Regions from separate parts of the Homo sapiens genome. Here regions 2 and 3 are each linked to region 1. The links are contacts of gene promoters, found by promoter capture Hi-C in blood cells and fetal thymus (Javierre and others, 2016). All regions are on one chromosome and are shown on one strand. The core of a region is centred on a gene start or on the middle of the fragment in contact, and the rest is flanking DNA. Distances in the headings are between cores, read along the strand shown. Region 1 holds the start of CCDC6 (coiled-coil domain containing 6). Region 2 has its middle 2.8 kb from the start of EGR2. Region 3 overlaps LOC105378327 (a long non-coding RNA gene).

The links. Contacts are between HindIII fragments. The CHiCAGO score rates a contact against its expected background, and 5 or more counts as called.
Region 2: a fragment that was not itself captured here is called in contact with the fragment with the promoter of CCDC6 in region 1 in 1 of 17 cell types (non-activated CD4 T cells); the score reaches 5.8 in non-activated CD4 T cells.
Region 3: a contact is called between a fragment that was not itself captured here and the fragment with the promoter of CCDC6 in region 1, in 1 of 17 cell types (non-activated CD4 T cells). The highest score is 11.1, in non-activated CD4 T cells.

Annotation. Positions count from the first base shown.
Region 1 is chr10:59,905,065-59,908,489 of GRCh38, reverse strand. It overlaps CCDC6 (coiled-coil domain containing 6), which reads left to right and starts at 1,934. Exons shown (of 9, transcript NM_005436.5): 1 at 1,934-2,368. The coding sequence starts at 2,066. RefSeq lists enhancers at 1-299, 2,992-3,221 and silencers at 1,345-1,639, 1,822-2,161, 2,192-2,471. The HindIII fragment of the contact is 3,234 bases long and covers 1-3,227 here.
Region 2 is chr10:62,817,442-62,820,866 of GRCh38, reverse strand. It overlaps a transcript of EGR2 not described here. Among named protein-coding and RNA genes, the nearest start is that of EGR2, 2.8 kb to the right of the region's middle. RefSeq lists silencers at 1,871-2,120, 2,621-2,770 and enhancers at 2,851-3,020, 2,658-3,425. The HindIII fragment of the contact is 2,936 bases long and covers 103-3,038 here.
Region 3 is chr10:62,639,593-62,643,017 of GRCh38, reverse strand. All of the region lies in intron 1 of LOC105378327 (a long non-coding RNA gene), which reads left to right. Among named protein-coding and RNA genes, the nearest start is that of ADO, 160 kb to the left of the region's middle. RefSeq lists an enhancer at 2,366-2,435. The HindIII fragment of the contact is 1,348 bases long and covers 1,216-2,563 here.

The DNA of each region.
Region 1 (3,425 bases), core at 685-3,184:
AATATGGAATAGGGAGCAATAGAAACTTGTGAGGTATGGCAGCCAGACCTACTCTTAAGATTCGATCACAGTGCTGAATAAAGGGGAAAGAATGTTGTTAAATCTGTTTCCCCCTGTGGTGCTTCTCCCTGCTAGCTTTACTCTTCCATTTCAACCCTCAAGTGAGCTTTCCAGAATCCGTTTCCAATTTAACTCATTGTCTCATGTACTAGATCCCAAAAAAGTGAGAGAACTAAGTTTCAGTGCAAATTAAACTGGATCACTTGTAACAGAATGATTTAGATTGCCTATATGTTTCTCAAGAGCAAAGCCAAGCATTTCCTCCCTCCTGCTATACAAACAGTGACAGAGTTCAGAAGCCCTCCAGCACTAAGCTAAAAAATACCTGGGAGAAACTGGGGTTTAGTTGCTGTTGGCATTTAAGCTGTTTGCTAAAAGCAGCCATCTTGGTGAAAGATGATGTCATTTGGAACACTTGGTGTTTTCGAGTTTATTCTGAGGTGCCAGTTTCCAAGAGCCATTGAATCACCGTTTAATCATGAGATCAAATTTAGGTTTAAAGATAATGAGGGAGTGGGAATAAGAATCATTCTTCTTTCTTCCTAACACTTTAGAAATCTTTCAGAAAGTTCAACCCAACAGAAAAAAAAATTACACTTTTTTTTCTATTTTCTATTACCATGTGTTTGTTGTAATGTTAACTAAGCGTGGGTAATAAAACTAGTCTGGTCAGTTTCACTTTCCAATTTTTATACATAAGTGAAAGCTGTTTTGTGTCAACAGGGCAAAGTGTTTAGAATCATCTCACCTGCTGGGCCAATTTCCTGCAAGCCTTTCTTTGGGAAGAGGAAGGGGGAATAAAAGTTTTTGATTTTTAATTTCTTAAACTGCAAAGCTAGAACCATGAATTAGACCGCATTACAGTAATTACTGTTTTATTTTTACATGCTAAAGTTTTCTAGGAGTGAGCAAGAGGATAGCAAAGACGGGTGATGTTGCACTCCCACTCAATCATTACTATTTGTATAGCATAATGTTATGTCCGCAGTTACTTTGGAAAATTGGCACTTAAAGAGGTGTTTCAATCTTCTACTAAAAGTGTTTCGCCTTCCTTTTTTTTTTTCTTCATTAGGTAAATGTTACTGTCTTAATCCTACTACGAGACATGTGCTGGAAATGTTTGCAAAATGCAAAGAGAAAAAGAAAAAAACAGTTGCACCTTGTTTAAACAATTGAGCGCAGTGTGGTTTATGAGGTTATTAAAGGAGATGTGTGTCTCTCCTGCAAATTCTTACTTAACAAGGTTAACCTGTGGCTGCTGTTGTTTCATCCTCCTCGGCCTCTTGTAGAGGAACTTTGTTCTCTTAGGTTTATCCAAGCCTTCCTAGTCAAAAACACCTTGCTTTTGAGAATATAAAACTGCGTGTATGTGTGAAACAGATAGAGGGAGACACGCGCACACACAGTCGGCGGAAGATGGGGCCACAACACGGTAGAGGATGGGTGCCGGAGCCCGGCTGACCTTTCCACGTGTCCCCGGCACCTGCGAGGCTGGTGGGGCATCAGGTTTCCTTTTTCTCGGGGCGGGCGCGAGCCCGGAAGAGGCTGGGCGGCCGTGGGCTTAGATCAGGGGGCTCGGAGGCCCTCCCTTGGAACACGTGTGGCTGGCGAGCTGGTGGTGCGGGGGCAGTCCTTGGCTTTCCCGCACCCGCAGTGCCTGCGCGTTCCCAGCCCGCCCGTGGTCACCAGACGGCGGCGGGCGGGTCCCGGAGCTTTCAGCCAGCTTTGCTGGGCGGCCTAGGGAGCGCGCCCAGCCCGGCTGGAGCGAGCCCCAGTGCAATACTGCCCAAGCCCGGGCGGGGTCTCTGTTCTCTGGCAGAGGAGGTCCCTTGGCAGCGGGAAGCGCCCTCTCTTTCTCTCGCCGCCGCTCCGAGTCTGCGCCCTGGTGCCAGGCGCTCAGCTCGGCGCTCCCCTGTGCTCGCCCGGCGCCCACTCATTCGCAGCCCGGCCTTCGTCGCCGCCGCCTCCCTGCTGCTCCTCCTCCTTTCCCCAGCCCGCCGCGGCCATGGCGGACAGCGCCAGCGAGAGCGACACGGACGGGGCGGGGGGCAACAGCAGCAGCTCGGCCGCCATGCAGTCGTCCTGCTCGTCGACCTCGGGCGGCGGCGGTGGCGGCGGGGGAGGCGGCGGCGGTGGGAAGTCGGGGGGCATTGTCATCTCGCCGTTCCGCCTGGAGGAGCTCACCAACCGCCTGGCCTCGCTGCAGCAAGAGAACAAGGTGCTGAAGATAGAGCTGGAGACCTACAAACTGAAGTGCAAGGCACTGCAGGAGGAGAACCGCGACCTGCGCAAAGCCAGCGTGACCATCGTGAGTGCCCCCCGGGGACGCGCCGCAGCGCCGACCTCCGCCCGCCCCGGGAGGGGCTGCACCCGAATCCAGCCACCCCCCAAGTCTTCCCCAGATTCCCGGGGACCCTCTGAGAGCACACTCCCTGCGGGGACCTGCTGGCTTCCGGGAGGAGAGGGAGGTATCCCTTCGGGGCCACGCGGGTCTGTCCTCCTCGGGGGTCTGAGGACCCTTGCGCGGTGCGGGGGAAGGCTACTGTGGCAACCATTCATGGTCCCTTTTAGCCTCTGGAGAGGAGGCCCCTCCGGGGCTGGGCTGGAGGCTGGCGGCGTGGCTGGGGGGCGGGGTAGGACTTTTTTCAGCCCTAGCATGTTTGAGGGGTGCGTCCAGAATCTGGGGAACCCCAGTCCTGGAAGAGGGAGGAAGCTGGGATCTCTTACTGGGTCCTGGCTCGGAGTGTGGGGGTTCGCAGCTGGACTGGGCACTAAGCTGGCATCTGGACTGCGCTAGCTGGATCGCCCGGGGAGGGGGCGGGAGAGAGTGGCCGGGAATCCGGGAAGTGGAGTTTTCTGGCCGGGATCGAGAGGGAAGGGCGGGTACGGCGCTAATGCTCCCACCTCTGTTGGAAGCTCTTTGCTTTGGGTTGGGAGGGTGGACGGTTTACAGCGAGGAGAGTGCAGCATCCACGCCTGGACAGGGCTGGGGCCGAAACCAGGGGAAGGGTAGTGACTGTGACTCCCTGGCTGAGCCAGAGGTACGTGTGTTTGCTTCATTCGTGGAGTGGTTAGAAGTATCTTGCTTCTGAGTCTAGATACTGGAGAACAGGCCATCTGTTCTGTTTCTACCTGTCCCCTGGAGGCTGCCCAGAAACGGGTAAGCTTGGGTCTGTAGGTCTCTCTCCTGGTGTGGCAGGCGTTTAGAAAGGCCCCTATAGCAGTGATGAGGCGAAACGTAACTAGAAAAAGTACACTGTGTACTCTCACCTATCATCCCTGCCAGCTCACCACATCATTAACATGAAGGATCCCCACACAGACAACTGTATTCAAATCAAAAGTTCCCCAGCCAGAAGCAGAGA
Region 2 (3,425 bases), core at 321-2,820, 2.9 Mb before region 1:
GATCATAGAGCTCTTATCTCCTCCTGTCCAGATTATTTGTGCCAATGACACGTGACTTAAGTTGTACATTGGACTGGTGCAAAGCAATGCTTTCCTCAAGCTTCACAACAGTTCTGATTGGCGTAGCCTGGGCTTGGTTTATAGCCTCTGGGATTACCAGATTAGTAGTGAGATGCTGAAACGTAGAGAACCATTTATCACTTTTTTTCAGCATGCAGGGGCACTTTAGGTGGATGGCAGAGTTGGCAATTGATCTGATTTTCACCGAAGTGCACATGTTCTATGCCATTCAAGTTTGAGGTCCCCACCCTCATGAGTGTCCACAGTTAAGGCAAATTCTGACCTTCTTTTGTCTTCCACTCCAGTAACAGTATTAGTATGGAAGGGAACAAAAATGACATTACAATAGGTAGAGCCTATAATGATGTGCAAGAATGTTAATAAATCAAAACACAAATATGAACAAATTATTTGTGACATCCCTCTTGGCTGATGGTGATCCTGTCACCACACTGTAAATGAGAATTTCAAATCTGGGTTAAAAAAAAAAACCTGAAAATCACTCAGGAGACTCTGGGGTCCAGCTAGGACCCTCAGGTTGCCACCCCTGCTTGTCACCCTAAACACTCTCCCGCAACCCCAGGAGCAAGCCTACTAAAGGGTTTCTCTGCATCGTTGTTATTTTACTTTCTGGCTCTGGAATCTGGACAAAGCAAATTGGAATCTGGCATGAGTTTGCTACTCTTTTAATAGCCCTGATACATCTTGGAGTGCCCCATTTAGTCGGGCATTTTTACAGGTCTATTTTAAAGAAAGTTGTTTCTTTGTTGGATTTTTAATCAAAACAAAAAAGTTCAAATGCTTAATAGTAGGGACCATGGTACATGTTTGTATTCAACTCTCACATTCTCCATCCCCACACCCCTCCACCTCCAGCACAGTATCTTGCTCAGTAAACCCTTTGGAGTTTTTACTTGTCCGCACTTCTTTCTTTTCTCACCTCTTCTTGTCTCCAGGAAGGATACTGTGGGGCTAGCTTCTCTTATGACAGCGCCTATTAGTATGCTGGCTTTGTGCCAGCCTGGCTATTCCATCCACAGTCTAGGTCTGGAGAGCCCAAGAACTCAAATTCTCCCTTTACAGTGGGCAGGGGGCGTGTCCATGACAGTCCCTTCCTCCTTGCCTGTAGAAAGCCCTGACCTCAGCTTTGCTCTCCTCAGAAATGGCAAAGAAAGGAGATGAAATTGGCGGAGGCGGCCTGATTCTTCCCTAGTGGGCTGAGTCAGGCTCCCAATCCTCAAAGAAGTGTTCACTTTTCAGACCTGGGTTTTCCTGAGGGCACGATGTAGCGACCACTGTGCGCTGTACTTGGATTCAGAAGACCCAGCTGCAAGTTTGGACACGACCACTTACCAGCTACGTGACTTTAGGCAAGCCACTTTAGCTTTCTGAGCTTATCCACAGGGTGGCTGGCTTGAAAGGGTGCGCCTTGATTCTGTTCCATTATCTGCACTACCCATATTTAAGGGTTGGTACTTCAAGAGACACTCAAAAAAACAAAGGTTACGAGAGTTATCTACTGACTTGTTTCAGCGGAGGTTCAATAAAGGCCTCCCAGGACTGGCCCCAGGCATTCCCTGGCCTCCCCGCAGCTGCCGCCCGTCCCCGCCCCCACTCCATTCCCTGCGCACCCCAGGCTGATGCAGCGTAGCTCTTAGGGGGAGGTGTGAGTCCTTGGAAAGCTCACAAGAATTTCAGAGGGTCAGTCACTCTCATTTACTCTAATGTGCTTTCAAGACTCCTTGATGGGGCCCCCTCCTCCACCCGCCTTCTACTGGCATCCTCCTCCGGGAAAGGTGGCAGCCGAAGACCTCGCGGTTTTCCCTCGCTCAGGCACCCCGCCCCGCCCCCAGCCCCGGTCCTGCCCTCCGCGCCCTGCTGGCCGGGCACTCGGGCGTCCAGGAGCTCCCCCTCGGGGTGGCGCGCGGCGACCGCCGGCGGGTTTGGCAGCAGCGCCAGTCGCGGGGCGGCCCGGGCAACTCGCCCGCCTGCCGGTCCGCCCACGTGCGCAGAGAGGAGCGAAGCGCGAGCAGTCGCCTCGCCCGCGCTTGCTGCCGGTGGGTGCCTCACCTAAGGGGCCGGCGGGGGCCGTAACCCGAGCCCCATCGCAGGGATCCGCATTTGCATAATTCGGCTTTCCCCCGTTCTTTCGGACTCAGGGCCCGAGATGCGAGTCGGACTCCCTTCCGAGGCGTCGTCTTGCCCATGGTCAGCGCGGGGGCCGCGGGACCCGCCAGAGCGCAGGCGGAGTGGGCTGGCGCACGTGGTAAGAACGCAGCTATCTTTTCTTGCTTTTCTTTTCTTTCTTTCTTTCTTGAGAAATAGGACTTTGCACATTTTTGCTGGGGTGGGGTATCTACTAGGGTGCTAACCTTGCTGCGATTTCTTTCCATGTCCTTTTCATCCCCAATTGGAAAAAAGCGCACAGCGCGAGCGAGAAACTTTCCCAAATGTGCTCTGGGTGACTTAAGTCAGAGAGATGGCCGGCCGCTGGATACCGGCTGTTTTGGAGGGAGGGGGAGAAGCAGCGCTTCAGTGGAAGAGCAGAGGGAGAGACCGCTCCCGGCAGCCTCAGGGCCCTGACCGCGGTGCGCTGGGCCCGGCGAGAGCTGGCGCACGGCTGCAGCGGTCGAGGCAGGTGAGCGGCTGAAGACCCGCCTGCAGCGCCGCGCTTCCTCCACGGCGTGGCGCCGTGGCTCCCGCCCGCCCCGGCCCACACTAAGCTAGGGCCGCTCCGGGCCCGGGGTGAAAAAGGGACAGGACAGGCCTGCGAGGCTGACCCTGCGCGTTATCCCTGGCCTCCGCGGCTTTGGAGCGGGAAAGGGCTCTGGGGCAGTTCGCAACCTGCACAAACGACCATGAATGAGTCATGCAGGCGGCGGTGCGCTGGACTTGGGCACCCGGGACCAGCCTCCTGTGGGGCCCCGGACAGGCCCGGCTATCCATTGCGGGCTGGGGCGCACTGGGAGGTAGAAGCTTTGCGCCCAGCAAGCCAGAACCTGCTGCTATTTGGACTTTGGAAAAGTTTTTAAAAATTGCTTTGGGAACGAAACAGAAGGGTTTCTACCGGGGTCTCGCAAAGTAAAACGAGTGGGTTGGGGGATGGGGATGGCGTCTTGAAAGTGATTAGAGATGCTTTCGGCCGTCACTGAGGACCGCGCTGGGCTCACCGAGGTGTTTTTTGGGGAGGGAGAGAAAATATTTATTCTAGTACGTGTATTCTGGCTCGGGTGCGGGCAGGGCGCGGTCCTGGATCCTGGGCTATGGGGGTCAGGGGGATTCTGTGGCTGCAGGGACCGGTAGTGAAGGTTAGGCCAGTGTCTTCATAGAACCTCCTGTCCAGCGAGCCCGGAGCCCGCTCTGCC
Region 3 (3,425 bases), core at 640-3,139, 2.7 Mb before region 1:
GCTCAACTATACATATACCTTGTGCACAGTAGCACAAATTTGGCTAGTTGGTGTTTGAGCTGTTGAAAGTAGGAAGCCCTGTGAGTGGCAGATGATTGTCTGCAATGGGAAATGAGAGCTGGAAGCCTAACGTCAAAAACAGTGATCAAAACCAAAAACGAGCCACCCAGTTAACGAATCACAGAAGTCTGACATCACAGAGAATGGGGAAAAGTATCCCTATCCACTTCAGTGGCTCCTGGGAGCATTCTATTTAATGCTACAAAACTTTAAACACTATTCGAAATTGTGATCCTGAGTCATTAAGATAACGTTTTATTCAGTTTAAAAAGTAAGCACCACACCATATTTTTTAAAAAAGGATTTTAAAAATAAAACCATAAAACATCGAGGAAATTTAGTGAATATTCATCTGACTTCTGAAAGGGAAATAATTTTCTAAGCACAAAAGCAAAAGAAGAAATAAAGAAAAAAGCCATATTTGTGTATAAATAGAAGTTAAGATTTACATATTAAAAATCATGAACCCAATTAAAAGGTAAACAGCAAGCTGTGAAAATTATTTGTCACAAACATGATATCCAATAACCTTAACAAAGTTCACCCAAGTCAATGAGTAAAATATTAAGGCCATGAGAGAAAATGGTCGTATGATATGTATTATAGAAGGAAAAATATCAGTGTCAAATTAGTATTTATAAATGTTTAAACTCACTGGTAATGAAAAGTGCAAACAGTTATAAGATAGCAGTTTTAACTTACCAAATTAACACAGATTTTTAAAAAATAACAGTATTTAATGTTGGTAAGGATGGTAAAATATTATTCTTAGAGAATGCTGGGGGTGTATAGATGGTACAAATCCTCTGAAAGGCAATTTTATAATATATATGATTTTGCTTATAGGTACCTCCATTCAAACAAAATCAAAATAGAGGCAAAGATTTCTATAAATAGATATTAATCCTTATTCATAATAAAAACATAATAAAAGTGATTAAATGAAATGTAATGCATTTCCATTATAGACTATCATAGAGCCATTAAAAGATACATTTTCAAAGACTGTTTAATGACACAGAAAATATTAAGTGAATTGTGACAGTTATTTTATATATTAATATTTTATGCAAAATAAGATGAGATAAATTACAATAAATGTTAACAGAACTATGGGCTTTTGCCTTATTTAGTCTTCTGCAATTTTTTTAAGCTTTGAAAAATAAGCATATATTTACTTTTATACTCAAAAATATTTAATTTTATTTTTAACAATTAAAATAGAGATGTGTATAATACACTTTAGAAAGATTTTTAGGTTGAATGGTTTAATTGTTTTGGTGTTCGAAGCCTCAGTGATGCAGACTGTTCATCCACATGAAGTCTTACCTCTCGAGATGGTGGATAAGACATTGCGGTATTTTGGAAATACTGGCTTACCTTAATGAAAAATAAATCTCTAAAATTATATAATGTGGTTAATGTTTGCTTTGTGACAGTATTTTCCAAATTGTGTTTCAGGAAAAAGAAGTACTTTAAGTTGCCCTGTGAAAAAAAGCATTCAGAGTTCAAATAAACTTAGGAAATACTGAATACTATGCAGTCATCTCTTGGTAGCCACGGAGGACTGGTTCCAGGACCCCTCTGTCCCCTGCAGATACCAAAACCTGAGAATGCTCAAGTCCCTTATATAAAATGGCATAGTATTTGCATTCAATCTATGCACATCCTCTCTCATATACTTTAAATCATCTCTAGATTGCTTATAATACCTAATACAATGCCTACACACCAATTTATTTGCAAGGATTCTATGCAGTACTTGGTTCACAGCAAATTCAAGTTTTGCTTTTGTGACTTTGTGAGGTTTTCTTTTCCAAGGTTAGTTGAATCCAAGAGGCAGAATTCACAAATATGACTGTATTCCTTTCTTGGAGAGTCACAATTCACATTAGCATTTTCAAGGCTCTGAAAAGCCCTACAGTAACATGCTTAGTTTTGTTTAGACCAGAGTTTCCCTAAGTGCTACTCTTCAGAAATGTATTGAGTAGCACCTACTAATGTCTCCCTGCCAAATTGTTTTGTGTATGTTACACACCTTGGAAAACCATGAGTTTAAGCAAAGCTCAGCTGACTTACTCACTTCTAGCTATGAGGCTAGAAGATGTGAGTCCAGTTTTGATTATTTTTTCAGAAACTGTCAGGAAAATGCTAGCTGAGATGATGGCAAGGTTGTGATTGGGCAGGCTTGAGGCTCTGTGTGGTAGTTCTATGCTTAGGAAGACTTCAGGCTCTTTTTCAAGTTGTCAGATTCCCCTCTCCCACACTCCATCACCAGTCCCAAGTCAGTGAGTGGCTGCCAGCCAGGGTCCTCTGAGCTGCTGAAGGCTTCCCTTTCCACCCACACTGTGCAAAATGGGGATGGGACTTTCCAGGCACACAGCCTGAAGGCAGACAGCTTCTCCAACTTCCTGCTCCAGATTGGAGAATGATGTGCAATCCCTTACTATCAGCTCTTACATCTGGAAGGGTTTAAGTAGGGTCTATTACTAGAAAGTAAGCTTTATGTTAGAAGGTACTGAATACACAGGAACTTTTCCTGAGGATAGTGCGAATGAAGTCTTTGTTTGTTTGTTTCAATGAGCTGCCTGTAAGTGTCTTCTCTCTCTGGTTTTTTGTCCTCTCCTTCCAAGGTCCTTTTGGCCTTTTTGACCTTTTTTTTTTTCTTTTTTTGAAATGGAGTCTTGCTCTGTCACCCAGGCTGGAGTCAGTGGCCTGATCTCGGCTCTCACTGCAACCTCCACCTCCCGGGTTCAAACGATTCTCCTGCCTCAGCCTCCCAAGTAGCTGGGACTACAGGTGCACTGCACCACGCCCAGCTAATTTTTGTATTTTTTAGTAGAGATGGGGTTTCACCATATTGGCCAGGCTGATCTCAAACTCCTGACCTCAAGATCCACCTGCCTCGGCCTCCCAAAGTGCTAGGATTACAGGCGTGAGCCACCGTGCCAGACCCGACCTTTAACTTTAACTTACGGTTCAGGATCCCAGGCAATGGGCTCTTTTTGGAGCCCCATTATGATTTTCAGGTCCACCCAAGTGGAACAATGTCTTTGGTCATATTGACATTCTCAGACAGCATTCATTGTCCCACTATGCTCCCAGAGCCTTTGACCCTTTTTACTGGCTTCATCAGACTCTCTCCTAGGAAAAGGTGGAAATGGAGAGAGAGAGAGAGAGAGAGGGGAAGATGGTGGTGAGAAATCATCCACCATCCTACTTAGACTCACAGATGCCCATGACAGTGGGGGAGGCTGGGAGCTTCATGATCATCGCATCCAGTTGTTTGTGGATATCCAAGGTTTGGTGAACAGAGGAATATGTTGCAGGGGGTGATGGGGGGCTGTGAGTAGGTTGGGGGTGAC